Regions from separate parts of the Homo sapiens genome. Here regions 2, 3 and 4 are each linked to region 1. Evidence: promoter capture Hi-C in 16 types of primary human blood cells and fetal thymus (Javierre and others, 2016). All regions are on one chromosome and are shown on one strand. Each heading gives the region's core, a stretch centred on a gene start or on the middle of the fragment in contact. The rest is flanking DNA. Distances are from core to core; before and after follow the strand shown.

Region 1 (6,201 bases), core at 2,819-5,318:
GGGGAGGTTCTTAAGACCCACAATCAGAAAGGTGGAGAAGATTAGAGTCCTGCCTTGGGGCAGATAAGGAGAGGGCAGGAGAGAGATTCTGTTTCCTGAGGCCTGGCCCTGAGGCCTAACACACACAGCATTATAAAAAAACACCAACAATGGCTACGGGAGTTATGAGCCAGGAACACTGAATGAAAATTATATGTATTAATATACATTAAAATTAATTATATATGTATTATATATATTAAAATATATGTATATAATAACACAGGAATGAATGGGGAATCCCATGAAATCCTATTTACCCCTGGGGACTTCAAACGAGAATGTGTAAATAGTACCTTAAGCCCCAGGTAGGCAAGGACCATTATTTCCGTTTTCTTGGTTCCCTTTGATAAGCAAATTGACCAAATTTAGTAATTTCGAATTCATAGGCATTGTATCATCTACTTCACATGTTCCACAGAGGAATGCATTTCGGTAAGGATTATCAGAGACAGCTTTTTCTCTTAGGCAGGCAGTATGGTATATTGTGAAAATGTGGGCCTTGGCCGGGCTTGGTGGCTCATGCCTGTAATCCCAGCACTTTGGGAGGCTGAGGCGGGCAGATCACTGGGTCAGGAGTTTGAGACCAGCCTGGCCAACATGGTGAAATCCCATCTCTACTAAAAACACAAAAAATTAGCTGGGTAGGGCACCTGTAATCCCAGCTACTCAGGAGGCTGAGGCAGGAGAATCGCTTGAACCCAGGAGGCGGAGGTTGCAGTGAGCCGAGACTGCGCCACTGCACTCCAGCCTGGACAACAGAGACTCCGTCAAAAAAAAAAAAAAAAAAAAGGAAAGAAAGAAAATGTGGGCCTCCAGGTCAGAATGATTTGGGGTCAAGACTTTTTCTTAAACTTGCAACCTCAAGTGAGTCACTATCCTCTCTAGTCCGAGTTTCCTCAGCCTTGAGGTGGTGATAACACCTACCCTGCTGGGTGGTTGTGAAGATTAGTAATTTTGTTGATAAAGTGATCTCTTCAGGTATGGTCCAGATTGAGTGTTCTCAGCTAGGCTGTGCATTTCCATTAGGAAATGGGCTTTATTGAACTGGATATCCCTAGAGTCTAGTACAATAACATATATTAGGCACTTAGTAGCTGTTTATTTTTTCATTTTTTATTTTTTATTTTGAGACAGGATCTAGCTCTGTCACCCAGGCTGCAGTGCGAGGGCTTAAGTGATCCTCCTGCCTCGGCCTCTCGAGTACCTGGGACTACAGGCATGCACCACCACACCCAGCTAATTTTTTAACATTTATTTTTTGTAGAGATAGGGTCTCACTGTGTTGCCCAGTCTGGTCTCAAACTCCTGGGTCCATGCAATCCTCTCGGCCAGTAACTGTTTATTAAGCAAGGATCACATAAATACTCCACTAACAAGCTGGGCATGGTGGCTCACGCCTGTAATCCCAGCACTTTGGGAGGCCGAGGCGGGCAGATTGCTTGAGGTCAGGAGTTCGAGACCAGCCTGGACGACATGGTGAAACCCCATCTCTATTAAAAACACAAAAAATAGCCAGGCATGGTAGTGTATGCCTGTAGTCCCAGCTACTCAGGAGGCTGAGGCAGGAGAATCACTTGAACCTGAGAGACAGAGGTTGTAGTGAGCCGAGATTACACCAGTGTACTCCAGCCTGGGTGACAGAGTGAAATTGTCTCAAACAAAACAAAACAAAACAAAACAAAACAAAACAAAACAAAACTCCACTAACTTGTTAATTAGTGTATACCTTTGTATTGATCTATAACCTTTAACTTATTTATATTTTGTCTTTATTAATAGCCTCTTTGGGAAAATATTTTTCTTCTCCTTTCTCTTTAAAACACCTCCTACTCCCTCCCCCTACCAAGCTTAGAGCAAGTACATATTTCCAGGTTTGATTAAAGGCCAGAGTAGGATTTAGGAATTTCTTCAGAACACTGTTGAAACAATGCTGGAATATGACTTTGGATTAACATCCTTTTACCTTTCTAGGACTCAGCTCACACGACCATGATATTATTTTGTGGGTGGACTTTAAAAGATTTCTACATCAATTAAAACCTAGTTTGACTTAAGCCCTGCAAAATTTTACTTCCTTCCCAACAATAGGAAATCACAGCTCCCTTCTATGAGCAAAGTTGACTTGCAATTGCTCCTAACACATGTCAGAGGTGACACTTCACTCTTAAAGGTGCTTCTGAGGCTGCGGTTTCAAGAAGTCAGTAGTGTGAAAACTGGATCCCTATATGACAATTTTCAGGTAAAAAGAAAAAAGCATCAAGGAATTAAGAGTCGTACTGAGGGCTTCTTATTCTTCTAACTGATGATGATGATTTTTAGACAGGAGATATACGGACCTCGTATTGACTCTACTCCTAACTACGAACATGACCCAAGGACAATTACTTGAACTTTGGGAACCTCAGTTTTCTTATCTATAAGTGGAATTTACAAGGGGAAGATATGAGGATTGAAGGAGATAATGTATATGAAGTGCCTATGGAGCCGGGCACAGCACTTCACAACTGTAATCTCGGCATTTTGGGAGGCTGAGAAGGGAAGATCGCTTGAGCTTAGGAGTTTGAGACCAGCTTGGGCAATATGGTGAAACCCTGTCCCTACAAATAAAAAATTAAAAAATTAGCTGGACATGGTGGTGCCCGCCTGTAGTCCCAGGTACTTTGGAGGCTGAGTTGGGAGGATGGCTTTAGCCCACGGGGTTGAGGCTGCAGTGAGCCAAGATCGCACCACTGCACCCCAGCCTGGGTGACAGAGTGAGACCGTGTGTTAAAAAAACAAATAAATAAAGGGCCTATCAGTGTTTGGCTAATATTGTGATTAAGAATAAATCAGAGTTCCAATAAACTATTATTTCTAGAAAAAAAATAGTGAAAAAAATCACCTTAAAAATACCTTCCAAATTTTTTTCCCATTTACTTATTTGAAAACAGAATCTATTCAGGACAAAATTCTATCTTCAAGTACCAAATGGGTGATACAGTTCGCATTTATCCAAAAGCAGATTAAAGACAATGCCTTTTCTTGCCTACCTACTTGGAAAAGATCTCAGTGTCACTCAAATCACATTCCAAATCTCAACGACATTAAGGCCTCAAATCCTCTTAGGAAAGGTTTGAAGGTAGTTCATTTCAGTAATGATTAGACACTTGGGGACAAAACAGTACCTTGGCATCAAGGTCTGTACTGATTCACCAGCACAGAAATAGCAGTAACAAGATCTTCAACTCTGAGGTGTTCAAATAAGCAGACAAACTCCCTCGTGAGGCCCAGGCCTCTTGACATCCGGACTCAGTCTTTCTTTCTCAGATCGCCAAGGGTCTGGCCCATTTCTCAGCCTAAACCTATTTTGCGTTTAATTCAAACCAGTCAAAGTAACTTAACCGCCAGCAGTTAAAAAGCTACTAGGAGGAAGCGTAGGCAGGAGATGGGAGAGGAAAAGGCTCCTGTCAGGGTTTGGGCTTATGTGTGGATTCTTGAATTCTCCTTCTTTGTTCCTTTTAGCACTTACGATCAAGAACGGCTAGGCTGAGGGGGCAGGGGGGCCAGGCCACTGGAGCGAAACGGCCTCTCCGGATCTGGAGGCGTGGGAACCTCGGGAATAGTGGGGAGTTCCAGACCAGTTCCCTTCCCCCATCTGAACAAGTCCAGAGCGTGCGCCTTGAGAGGCGCTCGGAAACAGGGAAGCTGGGGACACGTAGCGAGAGACTGGTTGTCGCCCTGGCTGTCCGTCTTAGACCTAGCTTAGCGACCACCGCCTTCAATCCCTCAGCCCGGATCAGACGGTGCCAAAAGACAGCACTGCTTCCCAGCCTGGCCCAACGGCTCGGCTGCTGATTGGGCACCGCCGCCTCCCGCCCCGCCTCCCCTGCCACCTCGGGCGCCGCTGCACGTTTCCACTGGTCTTCAGCCCTGCCGATCAGTTTACTGCTCACCTCCCCCAAACAGCTCGTCAGGCCGGCGCGTGCTAGGAAGGCGGGGCCTGTGGCCTGTGGGGCGGAGCCTCGGTGGAGGTCGGCGCAGCTGCCCCTTTGGGCTTTGGCTCTGGACTGGAGCGCAGCATCCTTCGAGGCTGCAGCCGCCACGGCTGTTGCCGTAAGCAATCCTCCTGCCTCAGCCTCCCGAGTAGCTGGGACTCGGGACCAGCCTCCCGAGTATTGGTCAGGTAAAGAGAGTCTTGTCTGTTCTGCTGGCCATCTGCCCGTCTCTTCTTCCCGACCAAAGGCTGCCTGCTCCGCCTTCCCCCGTGGCTTTCAGGGTTCTTGGAATGAGGCATCAAGTCTATTTACCCCGCCAGCTTATCTTCCTCCCCTTCTGTGTCGGTTCCTCCAGCTCCCCCACCAAGCTGCTCCCAAGTACGTTGGTGGGCCCTCCGGGTCATCCCAACGCTCCTCACTACAGAACTCCTGTCGTTGACTCTCAGGTCCCAGCCCCCTTGACCCGCCAGTGCAGTCTCATTCCCAGCTTGGCACAGGAAAGGTGGAGGGCGGGAGGGCGGGAGGGCGGGGGACGGAGAGATGCAGAGCTTTTTTTTTTTTTTTTTTTTTTTTTTGAAGCTGGATGTGTTTAGCGCAGAGGGGGAGCACCACAATGGGATTGCATTGGGAACAGAAGCAGCTTCATGACTATGGTTGGCAATGACTAGAAAGGTATCTGTTGCTGCTTTTTGCTTGTGTTTATAGATGACATTTACCATCACCGTTTTCTTCTTCTTTCATCATCATCATCATCACCATTGCCACTACCACCACCTCCAAGGCCACTACCACCACAGCATCTCTGTTCCTCCATCAGAGCTCTTCAAGTTCTGTAAAGGCAGATTCTCTAAAGGCATGTAAGTGCTGACGGATCCCCCAACCCCCTCCCCCACCACCAAATAACGAACAGTGCTCTTGCCCCCTGAGGCCAGAGCCAAGCCCTCATTTAACTCAAGAACAAGTAGCTGGGAGCAGAGTGTGAGCTGGGAGGATTTTCCTTATCCTCATTTGCAATTGAGATTGCCAAAGAAAACCCTTTATTTTAATCATCCACATTTCTGCTTGCTGTCTCCTGGAGAGTTCCATGTTAGCACTCACACACTCCGAATGGGCTGAATGCAGAGCCTGAACCTGTGATATATATGGGGAGTGGCAGTCACTGAGAGGTGAATGTCCAGACCCAATCCTTTAAGAAGACCAGGTGGAGTAGCAGACAACCTGACTTTCTGCTACAGTAGCTCCAGCTGTACTAAAGCATGTTTACTATTCATGTTTGCATATGGGACATGTGCCATCATCTGCTATGCCCCCTTGCGTGTGTATTGGCAGGGGGGCGGAGGGGCGCATCTAAATTCCTAGGAGAGAGAATTATATTCTGTTCTCTACACCAGGTAGCATCTTATAGGCACACCAATGGGATTCAACAGCCGTTGCTTAGCTGTTTCTAGGGCTTACTGCAAATCTCTTGGATCACAGACTTATTAACCCTTTTTTGGGAGGGAAAACAGTATAGCTGAGAATTGCATACCAGATTAACTGTCGTTGTGGAAGATGTTGCTTCCACAATGAATCAATGAGGTCTCGGGTCTTCTTGATCAGATATCTAAACACTAGTCTCCTTTCTCTCAACTGTGTTACAGTCCAGGAGCAGGACCAATGAATAGTTAGACATATTGCAGGAACAAAGAAGCAATGGCCTCAATGGAGGGAAACAATGGAGAAGAGTAGTGAGACAGTATATTGTAATGGCTAAACTCATAAACCTGTCAGACATAGGTTCAAATCCTGGACCAGCCACTGACTAGCTCAGTGATTTTTGCAAGTTGCTTGCCTCTTTAATTTTAATTTCTCGTCTGTAAAATAGGGATAATACTACCTGTCTCTTAGGAGAAGGTGTGAGGATTAAACGAGATAATATAGGTAAAATACTCAGTAGTTTCTGGCACATAAGTGGGGAATTTATAGTAACTGCTATTAATAATACTAGTCAAGAAGGATAATAAAGGCCAGTCTCGTTCCTAAAAATTATGCATTTTTTTCCATTGTCTTTATCCTTTTTAGGTGTCAGAGCTGATGCAAATGGGGTATGGTAGTCTTCAGGTTCCTTATAGCACTACATCTTAGAGGGGTGCCACTATTGAAGCCACCTGTGTTTGGACAGGCATTTCTCTCACCAGCCTTCACA
Region 2 (5,869 bases), core at 1,603-4,102, 280 kb after region 1:
AGGCAAGCGGTATAATCTACACCGAGTGTGTGAGTTGGGGGCACAATTATGTAACTGCTGGCCAAACCTTGATTTTTGGACAGGGTCAAATTGGGAAGAAGCAAACAACCATGATTCAGATACATGCCTTATAAGGCTGTGCCCCTTTAGAGGCTCTCTGGTTTCTTTTTAAGACCCTATGTTCTCTTTGTCAAGAAGCTTTTCCTCCCATCAGCAGGACTCAGTCTTCAGGAGTCGTATGGTATAATTATACCCACAAACATCTATGTTATACATGCTACACCCCTGGTACCATGCTGGGAGACAGTTATCAAGATGCTTAAGAAATCAACTGCTGACTGCAAGGCTTTCACAGTCTACTGGGAGAAGGAAACAGTTATGCAACATACCACAGATTCTTAAAGTATACCATCTTCACCTTATGTAAAATATGAGAGAGGTACCATGGCAGAGGAAAAGATTGAGGACTTAATGATGTGAGGGTCAAAGGATGTCCTTCCAGGGCTTTGACCTCTGTGCCATGGAGAGATGAAGAAAGGGAGGAAGCCATGGCATGTTCAGGAATGGGGAAGGACACAGGGTGACTGGAACCCATGGTGCATGGAGAACATGGTAGGAGATGAGTTTGGAAGTGTAATTGAGGCGAGGCAGGGAATGAGCTTAACAACCAGGCCAAGGAGTTTAGACTTCGCCGAGTGTTTAAAGGAAGATATTGGAGGTATGTTAAGCATCACAGTAAAATTTTGAAATCCATGTTTTTAAAAAGTAACCTTGGTACAATGAAGGATGGATTGATGAGAAATATTGAAATTATAGATAAAAATATGATAATACAGACTTGGAGGTACCTGGCATTTCCCTTAAGACACTTGATCCATTATTTTTTGTAATTAGAGTTCTGTGTCATAGACCTTTCCTGTTAATAATGCTTTCTGAAGTTGGGTCTTGAGTGGGGTTTTAAAGGACTGGAAGGGTTTCCTAGTAACCGCGATCAGAAACACCTAAGAATTCGGGAAGGTTGCATTTACAGCACAAATCACTCAGTAGTTGTAGTTTTCTTTCTCTAACTCTTTCCAGATGTTAAAGGGGATAAGGCATTAACAAGCATTAAAACACATTTACAATGTATATATTTGAAATCATGATAGTAATAGCTCATATATACCATTTTGGGCTTATACCATGTTCTACGTGCTATGCTAAGCATATATCTTACCTCACTTAATATTTTCACTAAGTGGTATTAGAGCTGTTTTATAGATATGCTGAAGCTCAGAAAATTTAACATGTCAGGATCACACAATGAGTAAATTTTGCTCTGTCCATGATAGTCACCTTGATTTTTTTTTTTCTATACCTTGAATGTGTTCCTTCAGAAAAAGAAACTTGTCTTTGCAGTTACCTCTCCCTGGGACGTTATTCTCCAAGATAGCCACAAAACTGATCTCTGCAGGTCTTCTCTTAAATGTCACCTCCCAAAGAAGCCTTCCTTGAGCCTTCTGTCTAATGTTGTACATTTCTCTGTTTTACTTTCTTCATAGTAAATTGTTATCTGAAATTATGTATTTACTTGTTTATTTTCTGTCCCCAGACTGGGATATAAATTTCATGAGATTAATTAAGTACTTTGCACTTCTAACTTAAAAATCCACAGTATTTAGAACAGATCCTGTACACATCCAACAAATACTTATTCAAGGGCTGGATGGAGGAATGAATGAATCCATGTCTTCAGAGCCCATGGTTGTTCTCAGTCCCAACCTCTCTGGGTGTTATTTTTCTGCTACTGAACACACTGGAAGGGGCACAGCTGACAATACCATCTGAGGAACTGTGTGCCTGGGCCCCAGACTGATTAACTTTTAAAAACTGAGTATTTACTTACTAGGAAAAGAAACTCACAGGTCATTCTCTTTCTCATTAGTTAAGATTATTTGATTATATCTAAGCTTGTAATATATAGTTACCCAGGATGCATGATTAGTTAACATGTAAACATTTTTGGTAGATTATTGTTTAGAATTTGACCTTTTCTTATGCGCTCATGTTGGTTGATTTTTGTGAGAGAATACTGAGATTTACATAAAATAGACATTGTTTCTGGCTATTTTGGTTTTCAACGCACTAGACATTTAAAAATGCCTGTTGTGTCTGACAAATTAGTGGATTTATGTGATCTCCACACACAAAATAACAGTCTTGAGAGGACAAATCCTTTCTTTCTGTCCTTAAACTGCATTTTTCTTTACTGGTTTCACATTGGCCTTTGTGGATGTGTGATGTTCCTTTGTCTTGGTGGAATCTGAGGTGACTTACTTTGACTCTAGCATATTAACCTCCTCTTTTCTCTCTGTTCCATGTATCTAGGAATAGCTTGCTGATTAACCCCTAAGTTTGAGAAGGTGGCCTGCAAAGGAATTTTAAGTACATTTCTTGCTGTTCTGTGAGGTTCCATGATCTTAGCTCAGTTAATTTTAGCTTTGTTAAAATTGTATGAAAGGGTTCATGTGATTCTAAACCACAGAAGAAGCAAAATACCTCAAAAACAACCTGCCCCTTACCTTGGTCCCCACCTTCCCAAAAACCATGGTGTAATGCAAATGAACAGAATAAATAGTTGACGAGCAAAATTTTAAGGCATTCTAAGTATCACTGGTTGGTTTAATAAAATTAATTAGCCTGCCACGGAGAAAATTTACTAGCGTGCTGGTTAATTTCACAATGTAAAGTCAGGGAAGGGAGGTAGGGTTGAGGGAACAAACCTTATTAGTTTTGAATAATTATTTAAAGATGTGGACCTGCTTATTTCAAACACTTCGATAGCCAAATCCATTAAGGATTTTAAGTCTCAATTTTTGCATCCCAGTATCTATGGGAAGGTACCTCTCTAGATGAAATCATAAGCATATTAGTTAACGGCTAAATTAATCTTAAATAATACAGAACAAGTAGAATCCTAATAAAGCCATGGGAATGAGAGCCTGCCTGAAGACTGGCTCATGGGAGGTTTCCATAATCTTAATTTGCTATTGATGCAATTATTGTTTTTTCTTGTCTTTTTAATCCAAACAAGATGTTGGCAGTGGCCACGGAAAGGTGCCTGAAATCACATGCCTGAATTCATTTAATTTGCCAACATTGTCTTTTTTCTCTCTTTCTTTCTGGTAATGGGCAAGAGTCAGTTCTGGTGCATTAGGTACTAAATCTCTTCAATTACCATCGGGAAGAAAGATTTAAAATTGTGCTTCAAACCTACAAACTGATTTAGTTTTAAAGCACAAACACTTCTCCTGTGGAGCCTAAATTAAACTGCAGAAAGGACTCAGAGCCTGAGGAATTAAACAAGGCAGAGCCAAGGCTCAGGCCAATGATAGGAACCATTTTGGTTTCTTTCATTTGAGACCCCTGGTGCGAAAGGAAGGGGAGCAGAGAGGCACAGCTTGTGTAAGAAAACGCAATACTCTGTTAATTGCTTGGAAGCTGGATGTGGAGTAAACATTGGTGCAGGGGACCTAATCAAATCCCTTATCCTCTTTTCTTTTTGGGTGCTTGGCAGCCATTTTCAATGTGGATGACTCCGTGGTTGATCTGGAGACCCTGGCAGCCTTATATGAAAACGTGAGTGTCAAAGACTTACAGAGCTAGTATTTCCATATTTATCTTCTACCTGAGAAATGACTGAGCTGTTCATGTTCTTTGGTAGTAAGGGTTTTGACGTGGCCTGGAAGAGATTAAGGCATAGAAACACAAGCTTGAATGGGAGTGGATGTGAGAAGCACTAGATTCCTGACTCCCACTGTGGTATCTGGGCTAGCAGATCTCATTGCACACTTGCAAGGCAGGGCATCTCAGGTGGACACCATTTACGTGCCCTGGAACCCAGTCCTGTCACTTGCTGGCCAAGTGAATGAAGGTAAGCTGCCTACTGAAATGATAGCGTGCACTGGTGTCTACTTCTGAAGAATGGGACTGCTAATACCAGCTTGGATGATTACTCTTAGTCCAAATGAGTTGATGATATTGAATGTGGGAAGGTGTGTAGAATGGTAGGTATGTGTTTTGGATTTAGAATGAGACAGTCTTAGGTTTGAGGTCCAGCTGTGTCTACCATTGCCTGCTAAGTGACCTTGGGCTAGTTACTTAAACTTCTTAATCCCGTTGTGATCATCAGTATAGCGGGGATTATAGTAGGCTCTGATTTTTTTTTTTTAGTCAAATGAGGATTTAATATATGTAGCAGTAGCAATGTATTTTGAAAGTCAACAGGACTGTACACATATAAGGTTTTTGATTTGGGTTTTAAGTGGACATAACCAGCAGAATTGTCAGGCTCTCTTGAGAAGACAACACAGGAGAGTCAGAATTCCCATGATTGTTCATTGTTTTGGTTCACTGACTGTTAGGCTACAAAAACATAGATTGAACCACATTCTCTTAAGTAATGGTATTTCCCAGGAAGCTGTCTAGGGCTCTATAGTGTACTGTGGTCACCAGTTCAAAAGATGATTCGTTTCATATTTATGTCCCCTGGGACCTTAAGTTTCTTACAGAAGATTTCCATAGTCTAATAGTCTAGGCTTGGTGGCATCACCAATTCCTTGCTCATTTTCACATCTTTATATGTATCAGGAGCTACTTAGTACAAGTGGGTCGGAACTTCTCACGTTTCCACTAGTAAAGCTTTCGTTAATAAACCAGAAAGTACACAAATACCAGGCCATTGGGAGCTAATTATGCACTTGAATACTTGGAGGTCAGCAAGGTATAGAGGCAGAAAGAGGGAGTTCCAAGTCTGAAGCTCTTTAACAGTTGCTTAGTACAAGCCTCAGTGGAATAATCTGTAAAATGAGGATACAGTGGTTCATGTTAAAGAACTTTGTCAAAGGCAGTACCTTCCAGATGCTTTGTGTTGTTACCATGAGCTCAGGACTAAGCACATGGTTGCCGCTTGTTAGCTCACAGTAGAGATAAGCTTCATTCAACTGAAATAGTTGGATAAATTGAGAAAGTAAGTGACTCAATGCCAAAATAAGTGGTACAGACAATGAGTGCTTACGAAATTTGGAAAAAGGGACGTTGTTGACTAGAAATGAAAGAGCTGCGAGTTCATATAATTTAGGGCTGTTCTAAGAGTAAGGAAACAAATTCTAAGAACAATATTCCCCCAGCCTCCTTACAGAGGAAGAGATGGGGGATTCAAAAGTAGAGCTCAAATAGCTGTACTTCTGTGTCCAGCTGCGTGTACTTGTTAGGTCCATTTGCATTGAATCTCAAACTTGAGCATGCATCAGAATCACCCAGTGGGCTTGCATCCCCCCACCCCCACCCACACCCCAAGTTCTTGTGTCTAGGGTGGGCCAATAATTTGCATTTCTGACAAGTGACAGGTGATGTTGTTGATGCTGCTAGTCTAGGAACCACACTTCGAGACTTTGAGACCCACTGCCATAGCCAGAGTCTCACTTCCCTTTTTTTTTTTTTTTTTTTTGGTTTTGTTTTCTATTTTGATACAGAGAGCCCAAGAGGATGAGCTGGTTAAAATAAGAAAGTATTACGAGACATCCAAAGAAGAAGAACTGAAGCTGCTGGATAAACCTGAGCAGTAAGGATACTTAACATTTTTCTGTTAGGCCAAAAGGAGAACTGCAATTTCTGTCTTCTTGTCTCCCAGCTCAGAATAACCAAATCTAAATGTGCAGCCAGCTAAATCACAACACCGTCATTCCTGTGACCTGTTGCATGCAGCAGGATGACCCTGCTGCCGGGAAAAGCAGCGCTGAGATTTGTGCTGTTGGATACAGTGTGTCTCACCCCCCTCCCCCACCCCAAGAGACTCCCCTTTCTTTTTCTAGCAACTTGTTAATTCCTC
Region 3 (6,280 bases), core at 1,824-4,323, 490 kb after region 1:
GGTTCAAGCGATTCTCCTGCCTTAGCCTCCTGAGTAGCTGGGACTACAGGCACTCGCCACCACGCCCTGCTAATTTTTTTTTGGTAGTTTTAGTGGAGACAAGGTTTTGCCATGTTGACCGCGGCTTGTCTCGAACTCCTGACCTCAAGAGATCCGCCTGCCTCAACCACCCAAAGTGCTGGAATTACAGGCATGAGCCCCTGCACCTAACCTGTATCAGTCTACCTTTAAAATTAGGAGCTTATAAGTAAGTTCAGTATTTTGGGCTTCTTCTCAAGGTAGAGAAGGATGGAGCTAAAGGTGGAAAGCAAATTCAATACCTGCTTTCCCTTCTAAAGATCAATGTGAACTTGTACACCAATTTGCACTTGGCTCACAAAGGGTCCAAATTTAAATCTCTTTTCAATCTTGGTTCCCTCTCCACTCTTCCCTTCGTAGCGTAATAGGTTGGATCATCTGGAATACGATTTCTCATTCCTTTTTAAAAGAAAGATGAAAAATGTAAACTGTGGGCTCCTCACTGCTTATGTCAGAGCAATACATGTGTGCTTTATATAAACTAACCATTTGTCTATTAATGTTTGCAAAGAACTCCGTAGACATGAGGCATTTGGGACACACTCTCTGGAGAAATGTGGTGCCTTTGGAGAGAGGATCAGAGAAGGAAGAAACCAATAGTAAGAGAAATTCCTTTATATGCACATGTATAATAAAATGTGAAAGAAAATCTACCAGTTGAGCATCGAGCTGCATTTTCCCTTAGGTTGAAAGTTAGCCAGTAGGAAGGAAACCTTTTCAAGGAGACTAGGTAACCTTGCCTGCAGTGTTTGTTTCTACACTCTGTTTTACTTGTTCGTGTGACAGAGAAAGAAAACAAAGCTGATGGACTTTGGACTGGACAATGTAGCAGTGTGTCCCCAGATACCAGCTTCCAGATGATCTCTCTTGGGTCTCCCAGATGGAGCAGAGGGTTTCTGGTGACTCTGGTCACTGCATCAGCCAGAGCAGACAGGATCTTAGAAGCTCCCAGGTGCACATATCTGCCTTTCCACGTCGCCACGATTTTGTAGGAAAGTGGCTGAGCATGGGATAGGCCCTTAAAGACTGTAAAGTGTGATTCTTGGTCATGTGGACATTAAGCCAAAGTAGAACAACTTTCTGAAAAAAAAAAATCGTAATGATTTTTGCAGTGCTACTCTGCTAGCCAGAGTGATCCATGGATGTCTGTGGAATAATTAGGATGTACTTCCCCTAGAGAAATGTATGTGCTGGTCTCTTGGCACGAGCAACTCCAGAAAGTTTACCTAGCCAACACCTCAGGACACTAGCCAGAACCCCTCGTTATGTTTCCACTCTTCCAACGAAGGAAGAAAGAAAAAAGGGAAGGAAGGGAGGGAAGGAGGGAAAGAGGGAGGGAGGGTATTGGTTCTTTTCAATAAGAAAGACAAATTATTTCAGATAACAGCAGCTTCCCTTAAATGGTATTTAAGCTTTAACTCTATAGTCCTAAATATCTATTTTAACAGCAGTGATTACTATGTGAGCTCTGCACTGTCAATCTAGAGAAAAGAATCTTGCCACTAAGAAGAATTTCAAGGTGAGAGTTCGCTTTTAATACGCACATATAACACAGACATTCAATTGCACACATGTAGAAAAGAACATGAGAGGAGTGCACAGCTGAGTAGCAAGCATCCACTCCTGCCCCTGGTGTTCAGTGCCAGCCTGATGGTCTCCAGCTAATGTTCTCTGTGCACATGCAACATTTGAGCCCAGCAGGAGCTGAGCACATACCACAGACCACCATGTTCACACGTTTGCTCTTGCTCCTCCCTCCCCTCAGAAGTTCCCACCCTTCTCTCTTCTGGTTGAATTCCTACTCTGACCTCAAGCCTCCTTCTCAGAGCCTTCTGCCTTTTCTATTATTCTTGTCATATTTTTCCTTTATTGTAGTTACATGTATGCTGGACACATCTTCTTCAATGAAATGTAGACTCCTTGCATGGAGAAAGTGTCTCCTTCCTCCTCTTTGAGTCCCTGTGGCCCTAGCACAGGCTGAGTTGAATCGTAACTAAAGTGCTCCAGGTCTCCTCATCATTTCCCCTGCTGTCTTCTATTTTTATCCCGTCACCTGTAGGAACTGTGTCGGAAGAACTAACTGCTAGAGTTTCTCCAAAGTGTCGCGGCCAGTGGCAGTCCAGTAGCTGTCTTGAGTCCATCCTGACTCTTCGCGGCCCATCCCCAAGTCCAGGTCACGGTCATTTCTCACCTAAAAGGTTGCAATTGCTTCTTTATTGCTCTCCCCACTTTCACCGATGCTGACCCAAAGCCACTGGACACTTCTTCTTTTTTGTTTTTTGCTTTTTTGTTTGTTTTGTTTTGTTTTGTTTTTTAGATGGAGTCTTGCTCTGTCACCAGGCTGGAGTGCAGTGGCGCAACCTCAGCTCTCTGTAACCTCTACCTCCCAGGTTCAAGTGATTCTCCTGCCTCAGCCTCCCGAGTAGCTGGGATTACAGGCGTGTGCCACCACACCCGGCTAATTTTTTTGTATTATTAGTAGAGATGGGATTTCACCATGTGGGCCAAGATGGTCTCAATCTCTTGACCTTGGGATCCACCCTCCTCGGCCTCTCAAAGTGCTGGATTACAGGTGTGAGCCACTGTGCCCAGCCTGGACATTTCTTAACTTATATACTAAGCCATGTCCTTCCTTTGACTAACGCCCTTTCTTCCTGGCTCTTACCAAATTTTTAAATTATGCAATTTGTAGATTTGCTTGGTTTTTGTCTGTTTCCTCCGCGTGCCTGTAAGCTCTGTGGGGGCAAGAACCGTCTTTGTGTGGCTCACTGAATCCCCGGCCTCTACATGGCACTTGGAGTACATAGATGCTCCCAGACCTTTGTTGAATGAATAGATTAAAAGTGCAGCTGTTCTTATTTTCCTTCCTGTTATAACCCTTGCTCTAGCCCCCTTTTTGCCTTGCTTCTGTTTCTGATTTCTCCTCCTTCATTTTTTTTTTTTTTTTTTTTTTGAGACAGGCTCTTACTCTCACCCAGCAGGCTGGCGTGCAGTGGTGAGATCACAGCTCACTGTACCCTTGACCTCCTAGGCTCAAATGACCCGCCCACTTCAGCCTCCCAAGTAGCTGGGACTATAGGCACACACTAATTTTTGTATTTTTCGTAGAGATGGGGTCTCACCATGTTGCCCAGGCTGGTCTCGAACTCCTGGGGGCAAGAGATCCACTCATCTTGGCCTCCCAAAGTGCTGGGATTACAGGCATGAGCCATTGGTGCCTGGCCTGGTTTCTGCATTTTACCTGGAACTCATTGGAGAACTGAAACTCAAGAGCCTCAAAATCTACAACTGAGCCTAGGGGAGCCTCAGTCCTTAGTTTTGTCGTGGAATCAGAGAGCACATTCCTGTGCTCCAGGTGCCCCACCCACTGAATAACAGCGGAGGCAATGATGGCACTGACTCACTCTGGAAACTGCAACTGCACCCCGATAAGTTCTCCCTGTAAAACCAGTCACAAGATGACATTCCTCAGACCCCAAAGAAGTGAGTAAGTTTTATGGCCTGTGTCAGGGTAACATGCACTCTGCTAAAAATAACATGGTAAAATTTCCTAAGAAATAAATAATGCACCATTACTTTGTGTTTCTGGGAAACCTTAAGGATTTGTTGTAGAAAGATATTTTAGTTTTCTTAGCCTGGTGAAAAAGCATGCAAAGGAAAAAGTCATATTGGATAAGAGAAAGAATATTTGGGTATGTGGCCAGGAATGATGCACGTTTTGCCACTTATTTCTTTTACGTTTTAATCTTTTTGGAAACAGAGGCAAGTAACTAGCCAAGTACATTTGAAGGGCATCCATAGTTCCAAATGCCTCTCCCTTTACAATTTATTGATGAAGGACTAAGTAGCTCATCTAATTCATCTTGAGGAGATAGGAAAATGCTTATGGCAACAGCATTTTATCATGGTTGTGAGGCTTCTGAAAACATAATTCCAAACGATAGGAATGGTTTGCAGAGCCATCTGGGAGGAGATGGGCTGATTAGGAATGTCTGGGGCCTTAGAAATAAATTCAGGTGAAGTCGAAGCATGTTTTTCAGATCTGGTAGATTTTTGTGAGACTATTTATGGCTGGGTGTAGTTTAGCAGGCTTCTCGTAGAGCAGTGGAGTCCCTGTGTTCTACAACCTTCCCTCCGGGGCTTTTGTATTCACCCATTCTCACACCATTTCTGGTTGCAATTGTGTGCAATGTTTCCCCAAATTCACTGTGTATCAGAGTCACTGGAGAAACAAAACAAAACAAAAAATTGATCCCCAGAGCTTGCTCTAGACTACTGAATCAGAATTTCCTGGGCCAAGAATCTGTATTTTTACAAAGCTCTCCAGATGATTCTGATAAGCAGCCAGGTTTGACAATCACTGGTGTGGTGGAAAGAATTCTGTTTGCATCTAAGCTCAACCACCAACTACCTAAGCAACTTTAGAGATGGCAACTCTTGGGCTATCAGGAAACAGAGAAAATGATGCCTATGTCACAGGGTTATTGAAGAATTAAAGGAAATTACATATGTGATCTATCCCAATGCAAATTTAGTAGGCTGCGTTAGTTAATACTCTGCTGATGACCTAGAAGCTTAAAAGAGTTTTTTTCTCTAAAAAAGTGTTTAGCTTCCTCTTCTGTGTTTGATTCCTTATGAAACTTGGTTTCCCCTTTCATCAGTCACCAAGGATCAGGCCATATGTAGATGAATCATAATACCATTATGCCATGTGTTCTAAGAGCCTTCCAAGTGCATTGCTGCAAGAAAAGCTCAACATTTAATGTATATTGTTTTTCGATATCTCTTTCCAAATTGCCAGTACAATTTCCATTCCTGGGAAATTACATAGACATGTCTGGATCCAGTTCTTTTATCTTTGCATTTCCAACTGCTCTGTTTTCCTTCTTTCTTCCCATCAAATTCTTATATTTTGACAGTTTTAAGACCAGCTCTTCCTTGATCCTTTCCTTCCTATAATATATTGAATTGAAGTGAGCCCATTTCCCTTAGTGAGCCTTCTCTCCAAACACAAAATACTCTGAAGTTCAGATTCTCCTTCTGTGAGTGGGTTAACATCACACAAAGTTTGTGGTTTCATCCATCATAAACAAGAGTGTTTTACATGAACTCTGTTTCTTGTCTCCCAAGAATCACAGAAAGGTTGGGGCAAAGTGAAATAAATTTTCAGAAAGAAAAGTTACTTATTAAAAATAGCAGTGATAAAAATATGTAGATTGATTTAGTAGGAAGAATTCGTAAATTGTTTTAACTTAAAAGGAAACACTCTTGCAGGCATTCACAATGAATCAGGAGGAAAACACTTTGGCTTCTTCAAAAAGCTATTTACTCTCTTTGGTGTTCACAAAACATATCCAACAAAAGCCTTTTCTCTTACGATGCGAGGGAAGAAGGCAAATTGCATTTGGGAGCATCTGATCATACTTCACTCAGGAATGTTATGGGTTTTGGTTGTGTGCCCAGCTGATCTGAGCATATTAGCAAACATAGTAATAGTATTAGCTGCTGACAGTGTTTGGTATCAAACACATCCATTTGCAAAAATAGAAGAAATACTATATTCACATTTTCAATGCTCCCCTTTACTTAAATACCACAATGTGGTTTGAGTTGTGAATCTATTGAAGACATCTTTGATGAATCAACAGTCAAGGCATATGTAGAAAGTGATTTGGAAAATTTTTCCTGGGTTGTTGGTGGGGGAAGGGAGATAGTGTTGGGACATTTTCCATTCTCGTTCCTGCTTTTTCATTGGCCCCTGCCGCTTCCTAAGTCTATCTGCTGTTAAATGAAGATAACTCCCTCTCTCATACCCCAACGTCTCATCTCTCAGGGCTTTCTGGAGTACGACAGACTAATTGCAAAGAAATTTGACCTTCTTGGATAACTGGTGCCATCTAAATACCACGCGTTATTCCCCTGTCAGACACTCTAACGTAGGATGAGCCAGGCTGAAATCTTCCAAAAGCTGTGGAGGATAAATAAGCTCACATTCCAACTCAAAAATCAACAATAACAAAAAAGCCAAGCATAGTGAAAAATGATAAAGATCAGCCTCCGCTGTCACCTTTTTCATTCATACCATTGTACTTTTGGGGTCTATGTCATGGGGATGGTTCCTATGTCAATCCTAATGATAAAGCTTGAGTTTGGTTTACGTCTGTGCTGCGATTATTCATCTTCTTTCAAGCACTATTTCTTA
Region 4 (6,141 bases), core at 912-3,411, 500 kb before region 1:
CCAATCTTGGCTGGTAGCAACATCTCTACTTCTGTTGGAGAACGTTCTTGTGGCATCGTTACTTCAATTGTTTTAAATCAGGCAGAGTCTCTTCTAGTATTTACAAATATCACAGCGTGCATGTGGCTCCTTTCCCTGTATTTTCCTAAGTGGTCAAAAGGGGGAGTGTAACCTTCGAGTTTGGATGTGGAAGTTACAAGAAGACTTACGCACCTAGGCCAACACTGCTATTCTCCAGAAGATAACTCAGATGCTCAAACATGGCCTTCTGATTTTGCCGGCTAATTCGACAGAAATAGCAAAGGAAACGGCAGCAGCTAGCAACCATCTTTGGAAATGCAATCTGTAGGGAGAAGTAGAAAGTGTCAGACAAAAGAATCTATCATGAGGCCTTTCTGAAAACTCTGACCTCAGAGTCTTAAGTGGGTAAAGTGTGAACACTTGGAAAAATGAACTTTCTCCTTCCATTTTTTTTCTCAAGACTTATTCATAGGAGTTATAGTTCCTGAAATATCTTTCCTCCAAGAGAAATAGATGTCAAACAAGAATCCCAATCATCCTCGGAAGTCATGTGAAATTGCATGACCTTCTACCAGGCTATTGTTTCCAAGTAGGAAGGGAGTGGACAGAATTCAGAGACAGAGAGAGATGAGAGAGAGAGAGAGGAGAGAGAGTGAGTGAGATGAGAGAGAGAGGAGAGACAGAGAGGAGAGAAAGTGAGGAGAGAAAGTGAGGAAAGAGTGAGGAGAGAAAGAGGAGAGAGTGAGGAGGGGGGAGAGAGAGAAAGGGGGGGAGAGAGAGAGAGAGAGACAGACAGACAGACAGACAGACACAGGTGATCGTAGACACATAAGGCCCACCAGTATATCAAAGCCCAAGTGCCCTGGGTCAAGGCTGGCCTCTACAGTTACGCAAGTCTGAAAGGCATCGCTCTCTGAGTCTTCCCTGACTACTTTTGTCATTGATAATTGCTCTTCTATGGGATTCCATAGCACTTGTAATTTGATTCATGCAGTCTAGCATGAAGATGCCATCTTACATTACTGTTGATTGTACTTGGCTTTTCTACTTAACAAAGTAACCAGCATCTCTAGGTTGGGCCAAATCTTAGTTTTGATCCTACAGTGCTCAATAAATGGTGCCAGTGTTAACCTTGCTCGGGATCCTAAGACAACCTTGATTTCCTCCTTTAATATCACAGAGGATGCTCTAAGCAATAAGGTTCAGAAACTTGTAGTCTATCTGCTCGCTGAGGCATCCAGACATGTGCTCAGGGATCTTCTGGAGAGATTTCACTTTCCCAAGAGATCAGAAGGAAGCCCATGAGGAACGTGACCCTGGCTTCTGTTCCTTCTACACACCCACCCCCTCCCCAGTAGCACTGATGAAACTGCACCAGAAATCATCCCTTCCTAGGACCCTGGCACTCTGGAATTTCCAACATTTGAAGCCATACCCGATCTACTGCCTGTGGAAGCAGTTTAACCGTGAGGAGGTCCCCAGCCCAGCTGGGATAAATGTCCAGTTGTGTCCTATCCCCACAACTCTCCCCTTAGCAACAGGAGCTCCCCCTGATGCGGGCTCCTTATGAGGGAGCTGGCAAGGAAACCTGGCTTCTTCAGGAGTTCGGTTGACAGAGGAAACATCAACACTTCTGGGGAAACACTGCCAGGATCACTATTGAGATCTTGTTCTCCTTTAGAACAGCCTTCTCCTGACTCAGCACAAAACACACCAGGCTCCTAAGTGGAAGTGAGTGATTCCATCTTGGAAAGAGCAGGGCTGCCGAATACGGGAAGTAAACTTAGCAACTGAATAGCCCAGTGGGATTAATGAAGAAAGTCTCCAAGCTTCAAGAGCTCTTACACAATGGGATTCCGTCCAGCAGCATTATCCCATCGCTTGGCTCCTTCTTGGCACTGTGCCTATCCCTTCCTCTCCCTGGAAGAGAAACTGAGGCAAGGGACACCAGCCACGTGGCTCTGAACAAGTCACCTCGTGCTCCTGCCTCAAGGGACAAGTTCTGGCTAGGTTCTCCTTTTAGCATTACCTGAGATTTCTCTGTACCCAACACGTTCACCATCACCTCCATCACCGTCTCGTGCATGCCCAGGACTCTCATGAGGTTGGGATGCTGGTAAAACACCTTGTTGTTCATTATGTCTCTAGGATAAGGATCAGAGAGAGTCTTCAGCACCTGCTTATTTATATGCTATGAAAATTCAGGGATGAGAACACACAAACACACGAGAGGGCAAAATAATATGAAAGTAACAGGCTGAAAAGATAATAAGAAAGCACTAGTTCAGCTGGAATATATGTGGAGGGCCATTTTAGCTGACTGAAATATTCTGTGCTCCTCTATTTCTAAGTACTTGCTTTTTCTCTTTGAAACATTTCTTTCTGATGACCTATTAAACATCCCTTGTTTTATTTTTTCTTGTAATAATTTTAGATATCAATGAAGCTTTTGGACAATAGTCTTTAAAAACTCACGACATTAAGATGTAAGAACAATTACATCTTTAAGTCATCCAATATAAATTCACAGAGTAAAGCTGCATGCAAATCAAAATACAGAAACAGCCTGGTAATTTGCTGTGTACTCCCTTGCTGGGTGGTTACTTTCTGGCTGCCCATTCCCCTTCTCTTGAGGGTTGCAGGAAACACCACCTCCAATTGCCAGTTTTTACTTCTGCTATGTCTACTACGAAGGCTGGGGAGAGAATAATTATCTAACTGTATTGTCTTCCCATAAAAGTCGCTTCATTTATGTAAGATTTCTCTTTGGAAATGAGTTTGACGAATGAGTGCATTTCCCTCCAAGGATCCTGAAGGTCCCTTTCCTGCACCTTGGTGATGCTCCTTTGGTATGCTGGCTCAAGGGTGGTAGGATGAAAAGTTAGGTAGGAGGTTGTCTGTAGGTCTAGTTCTTGATTCTAATAAAGTAAAACTGTAGGCTGGTTAGTGAATCTTTTTGGGCCTTGGTGTTCTCATCTGCAAAACAGAAGTGCTACCCTACGTGATTATAGGAAACCCTTTTGATGTCTAAAATGCTATGAATTTTTTTTGACTACATGGCTTCTAAGGGAGAGCCATGAGCTACTGTTAAGGGGAAAGTTATCTCAATGAACTAACAAAAACGACTCTAGGTTAGTCCTGAGAAAAGGGAGAGATCAGGTGGCAATTTTTCAGAGGGAAGTTTCGGAAGATTTCGAGTCAAAAGCTCAGGTGCTCAGATCATTTCTGTCTTGGGTTGAACACACCGTCCCTTCCTCCAGATGTTTTCATGGGCTCCCTGGGGCTATTTTCAAAAGATTAAAATCAAGTAACTGCTTTTCCCCAAGACTCCTCCATACTTTTAGCAATGCCTTTCACTGTGAGTAGTTGGGTCTCTCAGGTTGCAAAGGATATGACTCCATGAGGAGTGAAATTGGAATCAGTTCACACAAAGATTTAATATGATTTGATTCCACTATATCTCTATATCAAGGTAAGTCAGTTTTCCCACTTAAAGCTCCTAGAGAGAACAGCACGTAACCGTGAATCACCTACCCCAGCCCATTGATCATGAGCAACTCCTCTTCCTTGCCCATCCTGACACTGAGGAGGGAGCGGATTTGGCCCAGGGCAGCCAGCAGGTTGATGGTGTCGCTTACAGAGGTGTGGCTGATGGTGTAGGTCTTCCGCAGCGCCTGCAGCAGCTCCCCAATGCTGTCATACTGCCTCCGGAGGAGGTTGAACATCATTCGGACCAGCTCTGAATCCTGGATCTGGTCCTCCTGGGCCCAGCAGATCATCGTCTGTGAGATGAGTTCCTTCAATGTTGCTGGAAGGACAACAGGAGGGAGCAGGACTGTGGCTGTCATGGCTCAGGGAGAGCTGGGTGTTTCAGCCACTTCATGCAAATAGAAGACACATCATTGGTTGAGGTTACAAAATTCTTATTATAGGCAATGTGCAGTGGCTCATGCCTATAATCCTAGCAATTTGGGAGGCTGAGGCTGAAGGATTTCTTGAGCCTAGCAGTTTGAGACCAGCCTGGGCCACAAAGCGAGACCCTGTTGCTACCAAAAAAAAAAAAAAAAAAAAAAAAAAAGCTGGGTGTGGTTGCACACGCCTGTAGTCAGCTGCTTGGGAGGCTGAGGTGGGAGGACTGCTTGAGCCTTGGAGGTTGAGGGTGCGGTAAGCCACCACTGCATCACTGCACTGCAGCCTGGGCAACAGAGTGAGACTCTGTCTCAAAAAAAAAAATTTTTTTTTTGTATTTTAAGGGTGGGTTATGACATGCACAGAAGTAGAATATATCATCAAAAGACAAATAAACCGGCTATATAACAATAAAAGAATATCCCAATTATGAGTTGAGGGTGCTAACTATTCTATTTTGATTAAACAATACTTGCATCCACACTGGGCTGAGAGAACAGATCTAAAGGCTTTACAACGGGACATCTGAGCATCATCCTAAAGTCTGAACAGCCTTTTTTTGCACTGGATCTTTGGCAAGAGTCAGCTGACACTGCATCTTGGACTCCTCTCATAAGCATCAAGAGAAAAAAACCACAGTGACTTTGAATTCAGAATTTATTGGGGCTCATACTGGTTTTACGGAAATTTTACTGTCTATACAAGTAAAGGAAAGATCACTGAACTGGGACTCAAAACAGCTGTGGAACCTTCAGAGGTTATACTAAAAAGCCCCTGAAAATTGCTGATTGGCATTGGCATAGGAGGTAAAGGAGGAAGGGGACCTGTTGGAATGGCCGGGAAGGCACTGCTTACCCCTTCCCTTACCATCCACACTTCCAGAAGATGACAGAGGTGAGACATGCTGCTCTTAAATCACAAATGCATCCTACCCTGGCACTGCATATCACAGTCCTACAAGGTATGGATGGCAGGAAGATCCTTAATTCAGGCCAGGCAGTGCCAAGGGGACAATGAAGGTCACTCAGTCAATCAGTGAAAGAAAGGGGAGTAAACAGATCAGTGCTTCTGGTAGCCCGTGGCATCTCTAATAGTTGAGGTTTCTACTCCACATCACTATAGATGGCAGATGTCTGCTCTATATACAGTCTTGGCTCATCGTAAGGATATAAAAATAGAACTCAGTTACCAAGCTTTAAAAGAGACCTAGATGTAATGGATTAATTTAACTTACTGCTGTGTCTATCAACCCTGTCGGTGTGTTAGATTCAGATGGGACACATAAACTGAGAACCTTAAAAAAGGACACCCAAGTCAGAGAGAAGCACAGTTAAAGGATGTTCTCAAGAGACCTCACTAGGCAGGGACTGCAGACTAATACCTGTTAGGTTAGATAATATCTGTATCCTCTAGGGGCAAAGTCATTTAAGGGCTATGCTGGGCTCCTTGTCAGAAACCTGTTTCCTCAGAGTCCAAATATAAAAGTTCCTGCATCTCCTGGTTAATTCACATGTATATATTTTGGAGGAGAAACCCTAATTTTATTGTCTGTCATATTATTCAAAAAAATCTAGGCCAGGCGCAGTGGCTCACGCCTGTAATCCCAGCACTTTGGGAGGCCGAGGTGGGTGGATCACGAGGTCAGGAGAAGGAGACTATCCTGGCTAACACGGTGAAACCCCGTCTCTACTAAAAATACAAAAAATTAACCGGGCGTGATGGAGGGCGCCTGTAGTCCCAGCTACTCGGGAGGCTGAGGCAGGAGAATGGCGTGAACCCGGGAGGCGGAGCTTGCAGTGAGCTGAGATTGCACCACTGCACTCCAGCTGGGCGACAGACCAAGACTCCGTCTTGAAAAAAAAAAAACAAAAACTAGTAATAATAGATTTGTACAGAAAAAAGCAAATGAATAGTAAATGAGAGCACAAAAGAAATAATTTAAATTTGCTATTTTTTTTCCATGATATTAGGATGATAGTGCCTGGCTTCATGGTAGGATTTGTTCGCTGGCCAAAGCCTGCCAGAAAACTAGGGCTTTCAGTGTCTGTCTACTCTGCTGGTCCTTGACAAAACTTTTGAGATTTTCAAGAAAAGTAACGTCCTCCTGGTGCTCCGGAACTGTGCTGAGCTCCACCAACCCATCCACAAAAGCGTTTCCACCCCTTTGTCCTCAAAGAAATAATACAGGGCCTAGTCCGGGCACTCTGTGTT

The links. Contacts are between HindIII fragments. The CHiCAGO score rates a contact against its expected background, and 5 or more counts as called.
Region 2: a fragment that was not itself captured here is called in contact with the fragment with the promoter of FMN1 in region 1 in 1 of 17 cell types (monocytes); the score reaches 7.0 in monocytes.
Region 3: a fragment that was not itself captured here is called in contact with the fragment with the promoter of FMN1 in region 1 in 2 of 17 cell types (M0 macrophages and M1 macrophages); the score reaches 6.6 in M0 macrophages.
Region 4: a fragment that was not itself captured here is called in contact with the fragment with the promoter of FMN1 in region 1 in 3 of 17 cell types (endothelial precursors, erythroblasts and activated CD4 T cells); the score reaches 9.5 in endothelial precursors.

The regions. Positions count from the first base shown.
Region 1 is chr15:33,192,581-33,198,781 of GRCh38, reverse strand. FMN1 (formin 1) reads left to right here and starts at 4,068. Exons shown (of 21, transcript NM_001277313.2): 1 at 4,068-4,204; 2 at 4,722-4,873. LOC105370759 (a long non-coding RNA gene) reads right to left here and starts at 3,871. Exons shown (of 3, transcript XR_932090.3): 1 at 3,207-3,871. RefSeq lists silencers at 3,766-3,975, 3,750-4,089. The HindIII fragment of the contact is 5,074 bases long and covers 1,892-6,201 here.
Region 2 is chr15:32,908,223-32,914,091 of GRCh38, reverse strand. It overlaps FMN1 (formin 1), which reads left to right. Exons shown (of 21, transcript NM_001277313.2): 11 at 3,557-3,618; 12 at 5,514-5,602. Among named protein-coding and RNA genes, the nearest start is that of GREM1-AS1, 190 kb to the right of the region's middle. The HindIII fragment of the contact is 1,802 bases long and covers 1,952-3,753 here.
Region 3 is chr15:32,704,124-32,710,403 of GRCh38, reverse strand. No RefSeq gene overlaps it. Among named protein-coding and RNA genes, the nearest start is that of GREM1, 11 kb to the left of the region's middle. The HindIII fragment of the contact is 3,162 bases long and covers 1,493-4,654 here.
Region 4 is chr15:33,693,906-33,700,046 of GRCh38, reverse strand. It overlaps RYR3 (ryanodine receptor 3), which reads right to left. Exons shown (of 104, transcript NM_001036.6): 39 at 3,556-3,829; 40 at 2,051-2,165; 41 at 214-343. It also overlaps the pseudogene C1QBPP3. Among named protein-coding and RNA genes, the nearest start is that of CHRM5, 270 kb to the left of the region's middle. The HindIII fragment of the contact is 617 bases long and covers 1,853-2,469 here.